3 separate regions of the Homo sapiens genome follow, and regions 1 and 2 are each linked to region 3. Evidence: promoter capture Hi-C in 16 types of primary human blood cells and fetal thymus (Javierre and others, 2016). All regions are on one chromosome and are shown on one strand. The core of a region is centred on a gene start or on the middle of the fragment in contact, and the rest is flanking DNA. Distances in the headings are between cores, read along the strand shown.

The links. The method cuts DNA at HindIII sites, captures the fragments that hold promoters and counts their contacts. A CHiCAGO score of 5 or more calls a contact.
Region 1: a contact is called between a fragment that was not itself captured here and the fragment with the promoter of APOBEC2 in region 3, in 1 of 17 cell types (neutrophils). The highest score is 7.0, in neutrophils.
Region 2: a contact is called between a fragment that was not itself captured here and the fragment with the promoter of APOBEC2 in region 3, in 1 of 17 cell types (neutrophils). The highest score is 10.0, in neutrophils.

Annotation. Positions count from the first base shown.
Region 1 is chr6:41,352,007-41,355,479 of GRCh38, reverse strand. No RefSeq gene overlaps it. Among named protein-coding and RNA genes, the nearest start is that of NCR2, 18 kb to the right of the region's middle. The HindIII fragment of the contact is 198 bases long and covers 1,850-2,047 here.
Region 2 is chr6:41,312,704-41,315,896 of GRCh38, reverse strand. No RefSeq gene overlaps it. Among named protein-coding and RNA genes, the nearest start is that of NCR2, 21 kb to the left of the region's middle. The HindIII fragment of the contact is 2,856 bases long and covers 38-2,893 here.
Region 3 is chr6:41,050,994-41,054,577 of GRCh38, reverse strand. APOBEC2 (apolipoprotein B mRNA editing enzyme catalytic subunit 2) reads right to left here and starts at 1,376. Exons shown (of 3, transcript NM_006789.4): 1 at 1,100-1,376. The coding sequence starts at 1,230. The HindIII fragment of the contact is 6,727 bases long and covers 790-3,584 here.

The DNA.
Region 1 (3,473 bases), core at 699-3,198, 300 kb before region 3:
TACACACACATGCATACATGCACACATACATTGTGTCTAGGTATATTAGTCCATTCTTGCGTTGCTATAAATACCAGAGACTGGGTAATTTAAAAAGAGGTTTAATTGGCTCATGATTCTGCAGGCTGTACAGGAAGCATAGCAGCTTCTACTTCTGGGGAGGCCTCAGGAAATTTCCAATCAGGGCAGAAGACAAAGGGGGACTGAATTCTTTTCTTTTTAATTATACTTTAAGTTCTAGGGTACATGTGCACAATGTGCAGGTTTGTTACACATGTACACATGTGTCATGTTGGTGTGCTGCACCCATTAACTCATCATTTACATTAGGTATATCTCCTAATGCTATCCCTCCCCCGTCCCCTGACCCCATGACAGGCCCCGGTGTGTGATGTTCCCCACCCTGTGTCCAGGTGTTCTTATTGTTCAATTCCCACCTATGAGTGAGAACAAATGGTTTTAAACAACCAGATCTCATGAGAACTCACTCACTATCTCGAGGACAGTACCAAGAGGACGGTGCTAAACTGTTCACGAGAAATTCACCCCCATGATCCACTCACGTACCACCAAGCCCCACCGCCAACACTGGGGACTACAATTAGACATGAGATTTGGTGAGGACACAGATCCAAACCGTATCACTGGGGATATAGCTTTATCTTCAATTTTGCTGATATAAATGAGGTACTGTGATGTGTGTCACTCAGCAGCTTGATTTTTTTGAGCTAAATTGTTTAGTCAATCTGCTCTGTGCATTTAGAACACACATATCTGCCTCCTTTCTAACCTGCTGTTTAGTGCCCTAGGCTAGAGATGTAGCCTCATTTATTTCCTTCCTTTCCTATTTGTAGCCATTTGATTTGTTTCTAAGTTTCACTATTATATAAAATGTTGCAGCAAATAACCTTTTACATATGCCTCTTTGTGCACACATGATTTATTCTCTCATGCAGACACTAAAAATGGAATTGTCTGTGGAAAGTGGATATACATCTAATATTTTGATAAATCTGGACTAATTGATTTCCTAAAAGGATAGACTAATTTATATTCCCACCGACATCCTTTGAGATGCCAATTTTCTCACAACATCGTCACTGCTGGGAATAACCAATCTTTTAAATTTGTATTAATTTAATAGGTGAAAAATGATCCCTCCATTGTTGTTTTAATTTGCATTTTCCCACTTACTGATAAAATTGATCTTGCCTTCCATGTATTAATTTTCCATGGGGCGTTTCTTTGGATTGCAATTCTATCCTTTTCTGTTTCTTCTATTGAGTTGTTGCCCTTTGCTTATTGATTTCACAAGTTCCTTTTATAGTTTGGATATTAATCTTTGTATAACATATATATTATTTTTAAAATCTCGCTTTACTTTTTTGTCTTTTTTTTTGAGATGGAGTCCCACTCTATCACCAGGCTGGAGAGCAGTGGCATGATCTCAGCTCATTGCAACCTCCGCCTCCCAGGTTCAAGCAAGTCTCTTGCCTCAGCCTCCCAAGTAGCTGGGATTACAGGCATGCACCACCACGCCCAGCTAATTTTTGTATTTTTAGTAGAGACAGGGTTTCACTATGTTGGCCAGGCTGGTCTTGAACTCCTGACCTCATGATCCGCCCCTCTTGGCCTCCCAAAGTGCTGGGATTACAGGCGTGAGCCACTGCGCCTGGCCTCCGTTTACATTTTAAAAAACATTGTTTGTAGTATCTTTCGTCATACACAGGATTGTGTTTTAGGCAGAAAAATCAGTCAGTCCTCCTTCCTGGCTCTGTATGGGGGAGCTGTTTATATGGAGGGCCCGTCCTTCTCTAGGGGGCAGGTGATGGCATTTCTCCCAGAAGCTTGGGGAGGCCATTTCCTCAGGGGAGGAGCTCACCTGGGGACACTTGGTGACAACTTTGGAAATACTGACAGCTGCAGGGAACACTGTTTCCCACCACTGTGCCTGAGCTCCTTTCTTGCAGCCCAGTTTGGGGAGGGCAGCAAAGCCAGACGAAAGGGTGTTGTCCCAGGTCAAATATGGGAAGGACATAGTTAAGCTTTGTGCCTGGTCAGGTAACTGGCAGGTCACGGTGATTGGCTGAGATGCTCTCCCTTCCCCACAGAGGCCCTTCCTGTTCCCTTCCCTCAGTTCCTCAGGCTCAGATTTTTCTCCTCAGGAGCATCAGATCTGGGAGCCCTGGAGGGCTGGGGAAGGGGAAGCGGCCACATGTATACCCACCCCTGGGATCAGCCTCCTGCTGGTCCTCTGGCTGCAAGGTCACTTCTTCCTGCCCCACTTCCCTCTCCAGCCTTCTTTCTTGTCCTCCTCCCCAGTCCCCCATCTGAAGCTGAGGGCACCTGCAAACTAGGTGCAGGTGCCATTAGCAGCAAGAGGCAGAGGAGAGGGTCCTCCCAACCAAGCCGCTTCTCCTTGAGCTCTTGGGGTGGTGACCGAGGAATCCTCAGAGAGGGTGCTGGGAGGGAATAGGATTTGTTCAGGAGGAGGGGAGTCAGGAGGAGGAGAGAGGAAAGCCTCAGCCCTGGAAGCATGGCTGGACCACTTGCTCCTGCTCTCTTACCTACTAATGCTTGAGAAAGGTTGGTTGGGGAAAAAATAGTAGATACAAGAATCTAACATATTTCCCTTTATTGAATGTCGGGATTCTTAGAATTGGAAAAATGATGTTTACATATAATGTACAAAGAAAAGAGAAAAACACCAGGAAAGCTGGTGTGGTGTGTGCAACTCTAGGTGCAGCTGTTGTGGAGATCTGCTGACCAATGTCAAGTTCAGGGCTGCACCAAGATTTGAGCACCTCGCTGAGACTGTGGACTCTGCTTCGATGGTGGCTGTGTTGGCTGTTATCCCATAACCACAGGAAGTCCCTGGGTGTTTGGGCCAGCAGGGTTGGAATTCTACCAGGTATTGGCTAGGGTGCATTTTTGTAATCAGTAGGCCCGGGGCTGGGGGTGGGGGTGTGTGTGCCTTTTTGTGATCTCTCTGCAAGATGGGTCATTTGTCTAATTTCCATGGAGGAACAGGATGGGCCTATAGCAGGCCCTGTCATCATCAGAGCTCAGGGGCCAGGTGCTCCACTCCACTTCTGTATTTTTAACTCACGGTATTTTTTTTTATGTGGAAGTATTTTTAAATAAATTGCAGATATCCTGACATTCCACCCTTAAATAATTTATCATACATTTCTAAAACAAGAGCTCTTGCTGCTTAGCAAATTAATATGATCACAGCCAATGCAATTAAAAATAGTTTCTTAATAGACTCTACTACTCAGTGCATATTCACATTTAGACCCAACAAGTTCAGCACTTCAACCATAAGCAGAAACTCTGGTCTGTCTGAAACCTTGGCTGTCGCCAGACTTTCTTTTTTCTTTTTTTGAGACAGAGTTTCTCTCTTGTTTCCCAGGCTGGAGTGCAATGGCGCGATCTCGGCTCACTGCAACCTCCACCTCCCAGGTTCAAGC
Region 2 (3,193 bases), core at 216-2,715, 260 kb before region 3:
TCCTACTATATCTTATCCTCTCAAGGATTTCAAAGCTTTCCAGAAGGCACTCACACATCAAATGATTGCCATCATCATTAATTGACTTGAAGAACTCAACAACCCTACCACTGAAGCCCATGATGCAGGTAATGATGCCATGTAATCTTATATCCCAATACAACTGTTGAGGATAAGATTACATGACTCTTTGTTCCAGTGACTATTTCACTAGTGGTAACTGAGAGGAATGCTACCACCTTCTTCTTAGCTTGCTGAGAGGGTGACCCAACGCGGTGGGATTGTTAAAGTAAATTAAAATGGAGACCAGACCTGAAGAATCCCAGAGGGGACAAAAGAAGTTATGATTTGTAAGTGACCTAAACCTTGCTTGATTTGCAAACATAACCAAACTTAACTTGAGCTATTTCTTGTGAATGCCTATATATATCTATATCTATATATATATTTTTAAAAGCAGAACTTAAGCTCAACCAATCAGAAGTTACTATTTATACAAACTTAGATAACGAGGGGCTTTCCAAGTTGAGAGACCAAAAAAAGCAATTGTATAACAGTAACCAATTAAATACTTTGCTTTACTTCTGTGTCTGTCTTATAAAAGTCTCCTCTTTGTGTTCCTCAGTGGAGCTCCCAAACTATTTCTGGTTCGGAGCTGCTCAGTTCATAAATTGTTCATGCTAAAAAAAACTCACCAAAACTCTTTAAAATTTTACTGTGCCTCAGTTTATCTTTTTAACAGTTCAAAAAAGATTAAAATAAATGATAATTATATTCTGTCCTGGAGAAGTAGGGAAAAAGTCATTCTTATGCATTGTTGGAAGGGAATAATTGATAGCCTTTTCTTGGAGAGCAGTGGTGTAATGAATTAAAAGTCAGAACAAGAAAAAACAAACAAACAAAAGCACATGTTTTGGAACCAGCATTTCTAAGTTTTGTTTTTTTTTTTCTCAGCAAGTATTTTGTTGAGCATCTTCCTAAAAAGTCATGCCTGCAGCCTTTTTTTGCCCTGTATGGATGCACTGCCTCCACCAGTTGGTACACAGCTGTCTCTTCCTCATGTTTCTGGGGCTTCTCTTTGTCTCCTCTACAACGTTTTCTTGATTCTTGGATCTTTGTTTACTCCTTTGTACTGGTGGAACCCATCCTTGAGTAACTACGGGAGAAAGGGGGAATGGAAAATACATTTTGACAACTTTTATATTTAAAAATGCCTGTTTTACCATGACAGTTTGACTGATATAAAAAATTCTGAGTTGGAAACAATTTGTCCTCAGGATTTTGAAGGCATTGCTATGTTACCTTCTTGCTCCTATTGTTGTTGAAAAGTCAGGAGCAATTATGATAACTATGGCAATATGTGATCTGTTGTCTTCACTTTATCAGCGTTTTCTTTTTGTTCTCGGTGTCCTGGAATGTCACAGGGATGAGCCTTGGAGTGTGTCTATTTCCATCCCTTTGCTCCGCACAGTGAGTGGCCTTTTCGATCTAGAAATTCACAGGAAAATTTCTTGAATTAGTTCATGCATGATTTTCCCCTCTCTGTTTTCTATGTTCTGTCTTTCTAGAACTCCTTTTATTCAAGCATTCACCTCCTGGATCAGTTGTCTTTTTCTTTTTTTTTCTCTCCCATTTCTCTGTTGTTCTCATTCTCTCTCTGCCTCCCTCTGTTTTGGAAACAGCCCTTGGAGAAAAAGTTTTCTGTTTTTATTTATGGTTCCTTAGGTGGTCTCTGTTTCTTCCCAGTTGCCTTCACTATTCTCTGTTTAGTTTCTTTCTTCTCTTTCACTTGAGAGCTTTTTCTCAGGCCTGGGTAACAAAATTCTAAAGATAATTGGATGCTGTGAGCCCACAGTGGGGCTGGTGCCCTGGGAGTTTCACAGGAGGGTGACTCCTTGGCCATTTGCTTGAGGAAGTGCCTTGTCAATATCATTCAGCCTTCTCTCTTGGGCTGCTCAGGATCCCCAGGGAAGACTCACCCCATCTCTTGTCTGGAGGAAGAAGATCTGGCTGCCAACTTTCTGGAATCCAAATAGGAGAAGAGGGCTGGAGTGTTTCTCAGCTTCTGGTACATGTTCTTCACATAATCCCATGGTTTTCAGGACATTGTCACCATCCTCACCTATACCTATTGCCCACCCCTTCCCTACCACACACAGAAACCCAGCCTTCTTTGCAACCTCTCTAAGGCATTCATTCCCAGTTGTCTGCCAAGGTGGGTCAAGGTCGCTCATCTACAGAAAGTGGCAAGGGGATCTGGGTTCCTCATTGCTTCTTAAACAACTTTCTACCATTTCTTCTTAATCGGACTCCCCTAAACCACCTCCACTTTCTCAGCCATCTTGGCAATACTGTTGTGTAAATAAGACTTGACTTCTGCCTTCCTCAACTCTGATGAAAGGTTCTGTTTTCTCACTTCTAAGTCATTTCCCACTTACTTATATATTTTTTTCAGCTCCCCAAATTTTCTTGCTATTTTACCTTCTAGTTTCCCTCGTTCCTATGTTTCCTGCATTTCTTTATGTTCATTTTTGTGGGTTTTAGGAGCGAACAGAAATAAAGGTGTATGTTCCATCTGCCATCTTTCCCTGAGAATCTGAACGATGATCTTAGATTACAGAATCTATGATCATAAATAAAAATGGGCTGATAACCCATTATTCTTATTTGGTCCTTGTGTGGTTTTGGTATTAATATTGTTCTAGCCACAGAAATTATATGAGCAGCTTCTCCCCTCTTTTCTATTTCCTGGAATAAATTGTATGAATTAAGAAATATCTATACCTTGAAAATTCTTCTGTGCCTGAAGTTGCCCTCCCCTCACCTCTCTAGCAGCTGAGATGGTTATATGACTGGATGTTGATTTTTGAATTGTTGTTGCTCTAGTCAAGCTTTTAATCTCAACACCAATTTTAATATTTTATATCTTCCAGAAATGTATCCATTTTATTTAAGTTATTCAATTTATTAGTGTATGATTATTCATAGTATTGTTATTGTGAAAGTCTCTTTTGGGTGTTCAGGTATTTCTCATTTGTTCTCTTTTCTTTTCTTTTTTTCTTTTGAGACAGAGTCTCACTCTGTTGCCTAGGCTGGAGTGCAGTGGCGCAATCTTGGCTCACTGTAACCTCCCCTGTCTCTTGGGTTCAAGCAATTCTCCCACCTCAGCCTCCTGAGTAGCTGGGATTGCAGG
Region 3 (3,584 bases), core at 127-2,626:
CATCTGAGCTGGAAGGGACCTTACTACTATAGATCTTCATGTTATAAGTGCTAAAACTGTGGCTGACTGGAAAATCACTTGTCAAGCTTGAAATATCAAGTCCAAATTGCCACTCAGGGCTTCCTTTCCCCCTTGAAAGCATCATGCCTCCTTTCTTCCTGAAACTTCTCTTAGTCTCGCACCCACTCTGCCTGTGGTCATTCCTGGAGACCCCATGAAGGGAACGTTTGGTTCAAGGAGGAAATATGGCCTCATAGATTCTCTTTTTATTCTTTGCTCAGGATTTAGAAGGGTCTTCCACTACAGGAATAGAAAGGGAAGAGGAAGAAGACTACTTAGTTTTATTCCTGGAGATGGCATAATCTGGATAAGACAGAGGTACCCTGCACACAGCCCCCTCCTTGCAGTCTGTAGACCCTTTTCTTTGGGTCCCAGTTCCTCCAGGCAATGCCTGAGCATGTTGGAACAGCTCCTGTGTCCATAAGCTCCTGGGCTGCGTTATCTGCATGTAATTTCTCTGTTTCTCTGTGGGACAGCCCCTGAGGAGACTCAAAAGATTTAATAAGAAAAAAGCTGCTTCTGAGTCTTGGGAAAGGATGGATCTATCTTTCCTGTCTTGGGAGCATCTACTCCAGGAAGAAGCTCTAAAGAAAGGGCTAGAGGCCTATGGCTAGCGGAGAGACCCACTCAGGAACAGAGAAGTTGAGGGGAAGGGTTGCTTTGAACGGAGCCACATATAGATGTGCCAGTCTCATCCTCTGTCCTCGCCAAACTCCCTGGGACTAAGCTTCTACCCAGAGAGGCAGGTGGCCATCCCAATACCAGGAGGCCTGAAGGGTGGTTTTATTCTCTGGGCTTTTGCCTCCAAGGAGCTCCTCCTACCTCTCCCTGATTAGAGAGCCCAAGGTGTCACCCTGAGAAGCCAAGAGAATTTGCTGCTGGGTCCCCTACCACCCCTGCCGGGCCCACTGGTGCACTCTCACTGCTGCAGGGTTGTAGCTGTCCCTGACGCCTAATATAACCATCCTGAATTTCCACAGCCTAACCCAAGGCTGCACTCTTCTAGGGAGCAGAACCCTGACCCACATCTGAGGCTTACCCTGTGACAATCTCAAAGGGCGGCAGCTCAATCAGCTCTTTCAGCTTCTCAGGGTCGTCCAGGTTCTCCAGATCCTCCCCATTCTGGGAGGCAGCCTCAGTGGCCACAGCAGCCTCTTCCTTCTGGGCCATGGAGGGGCTGTGGCTCAGGAGTCACTGAGGGAGAGGAGAGAGGCAGGCAGGTCTGGGCCAGGCCCTGGCGGCAGAGTCCCAAGCAGCTGTCAGCAGCTAAATCTGGCTGGGGATGACGGGAAAAGGACCCAGCAGGCCAGGCTTCGTGCTTTCCCCACTTAGCCACAGGCTTTATAGCCAAGGCCTCCTGCCCCTCCCCCAGGCTCTCTCCCTCTATCTTTTTTTAATTGAGTGACAGCGGGTGCTGGGGTGGGGGAATGGAAAATCTGGCCATTAGTATCCCCTATTTATCAGTAGGCAAAGACAGGAACCTGGCAGGTGGGTATGGCTTGGCCTGCTCTCTTCTCCCTCTCCCTCTCAGCTCACCTTATGTTCTCCCCTTTGTTTCCCACCCAAATTCCCTAGCTCCACTGGGGGAGAGTGTGGAAGGGGCCCCAGGGCAGGCATCCTGAGATTTAGGAGGGTGGCCTTCTGAGATTTAAACAGGAGGAGATGTGTGTTGAAAGGGGCTGACTGCAAAAAGACCCAGGCCATTTGCTTTGGGGGAACGTGGGTTCAGGAAAGGAGGGGTCCTGGCAGAGGTGGGATCAAAACTGACAATTTGGGGAGTAAGTGTGTGAGTTATGACTCAAAAGCGGTGGGTGCTGATTTGCCTGTTACAAAGCCATAATGTAATGTCAAATCGATCAGGAGCCTCCCTGAGTAACAATAGCTGCCATTTACTTAGCTCAGAGATTTTGAAACAGGCCAGGCAGTGGGTTTAGGGGTTTAAATGAAATCAGATGCATGCTTGCCACAGCCATGGGAGGCGATGTGTATTATCCCAAGTTACAGGTAAACTGAGTCACAGAAGTGTGCAGAGCCGGGATTAAAATGCAGGCTTTTGTACTTCAGGCCAAATATTCAACCTCCATGCTATGTGCCCTCACAGTCAGTCTTTTATTCTTCTTAACAAATATTTATTGAGTATCTACTCTATGCCAGGTGCTGTTTCAGGTACTGGGAATATGGCAAAAGAACAAAGCAAATGAAAATCCCTGCTGTGATGATTTGTGGAGCTTGAGGAACTGAACAACAAATAAGGTAAGTAAAATACATGGTCTATTTTGTGATGACAAGTGCCAAGGAGAAAAGACAGGAAATGGAAACAGGAAGTGCTAAGAGGTGGGGTTACGTACTTATAGGATGGCCAGGGTGAAGGACTTTGAAAAGGAGACAATTGAAGAAGACGTGAAGAAGGCAAGGGAACTAATCATTTGGTTGTCTAAGAGGAAAGCGTTCCAAGGAAGGGAACAACGTGAGCAAAGGCTCTGAGAAGGGAGCATTCCTGGGGTGTTTGAGGAACTAGCGAGGACATACATCTGGGTGACTGAAGAGTTCTAAGAGATTAAGCCAGAGAGATAACAAGGGTAAAAGGGACTGGGGCCTTATGGGCTGTCATAAGTACCTTGCTTTTTCTCAGACTGAGGTGGGAAGCCATTGTCTCTGAACAGGTGAGACAGGTGGTCTGAGCACTTGGGAAGAGCAGAGGCAGGGGACCAGTGAGAAGCCTACTGAGGCCAGAGAGAGATGATGGGGGCCCATAGAAAAGACCCTGAGCCGGAACAGCAGCAGAGGATGGCTAGATGATTTTTGCAGCTCTCATGATGGGTACTTAGCAGAGGCAAAAGTCTTCGTGTTTGGAGCAGTGCAAACACTCTAGGCCATTCTCAGGGAAGCAGAAGGAAGGGGTCAGGGTCACTTGTAGGTTGAAAATGAGGAACCTAAGAACACTGGGGAACGGATCTGAAAACAGCTCCAAATGGGTTTGGCTGGTGGGGATGAGAGGGTAGGGCACCCTTTGGAGGGTCTGACTAAAGAAGAGGAGTCAAGATGGTTTGGAAGATTTAGGGCTCACTCCTCCAGAGAGTCTGAGCAGCAGAGTGCTCTGTTAGTGTGATGCCCAGCATTTTGGTTTGCCAGTCATGGTTTCTTCCTGTTGTCCAGACATAATTACTAATAGCACCCCTTTACTCCCAAAGGTGTCCCGCTGTGGACAATAAATTATATGGTCCCCTACCTTTTGGATTTACTACTAAAAGGATTATTATTATTTATTTTTTGAGATGGAGTCTCACTCTGTCACCAGACTGGAGTGCAGTGGCACGATCTTGGCTCACTGCAACCTCCGCCTCCCGAGTTCAACCGATTCTCCTGCCTCAGCCTCCAAAGTAGCTGGGACTACTGGCATGTGCCACCAGGCCCAGCTAATTTTTGTAATTTTAGTAGAGACAGGGTTTCACCATGTGGCCAGGATGGTCTCCATCTCCTGACCTCGTGATCCGCCTGCCTTGGCCTCCCAAAATGCTGGGTGG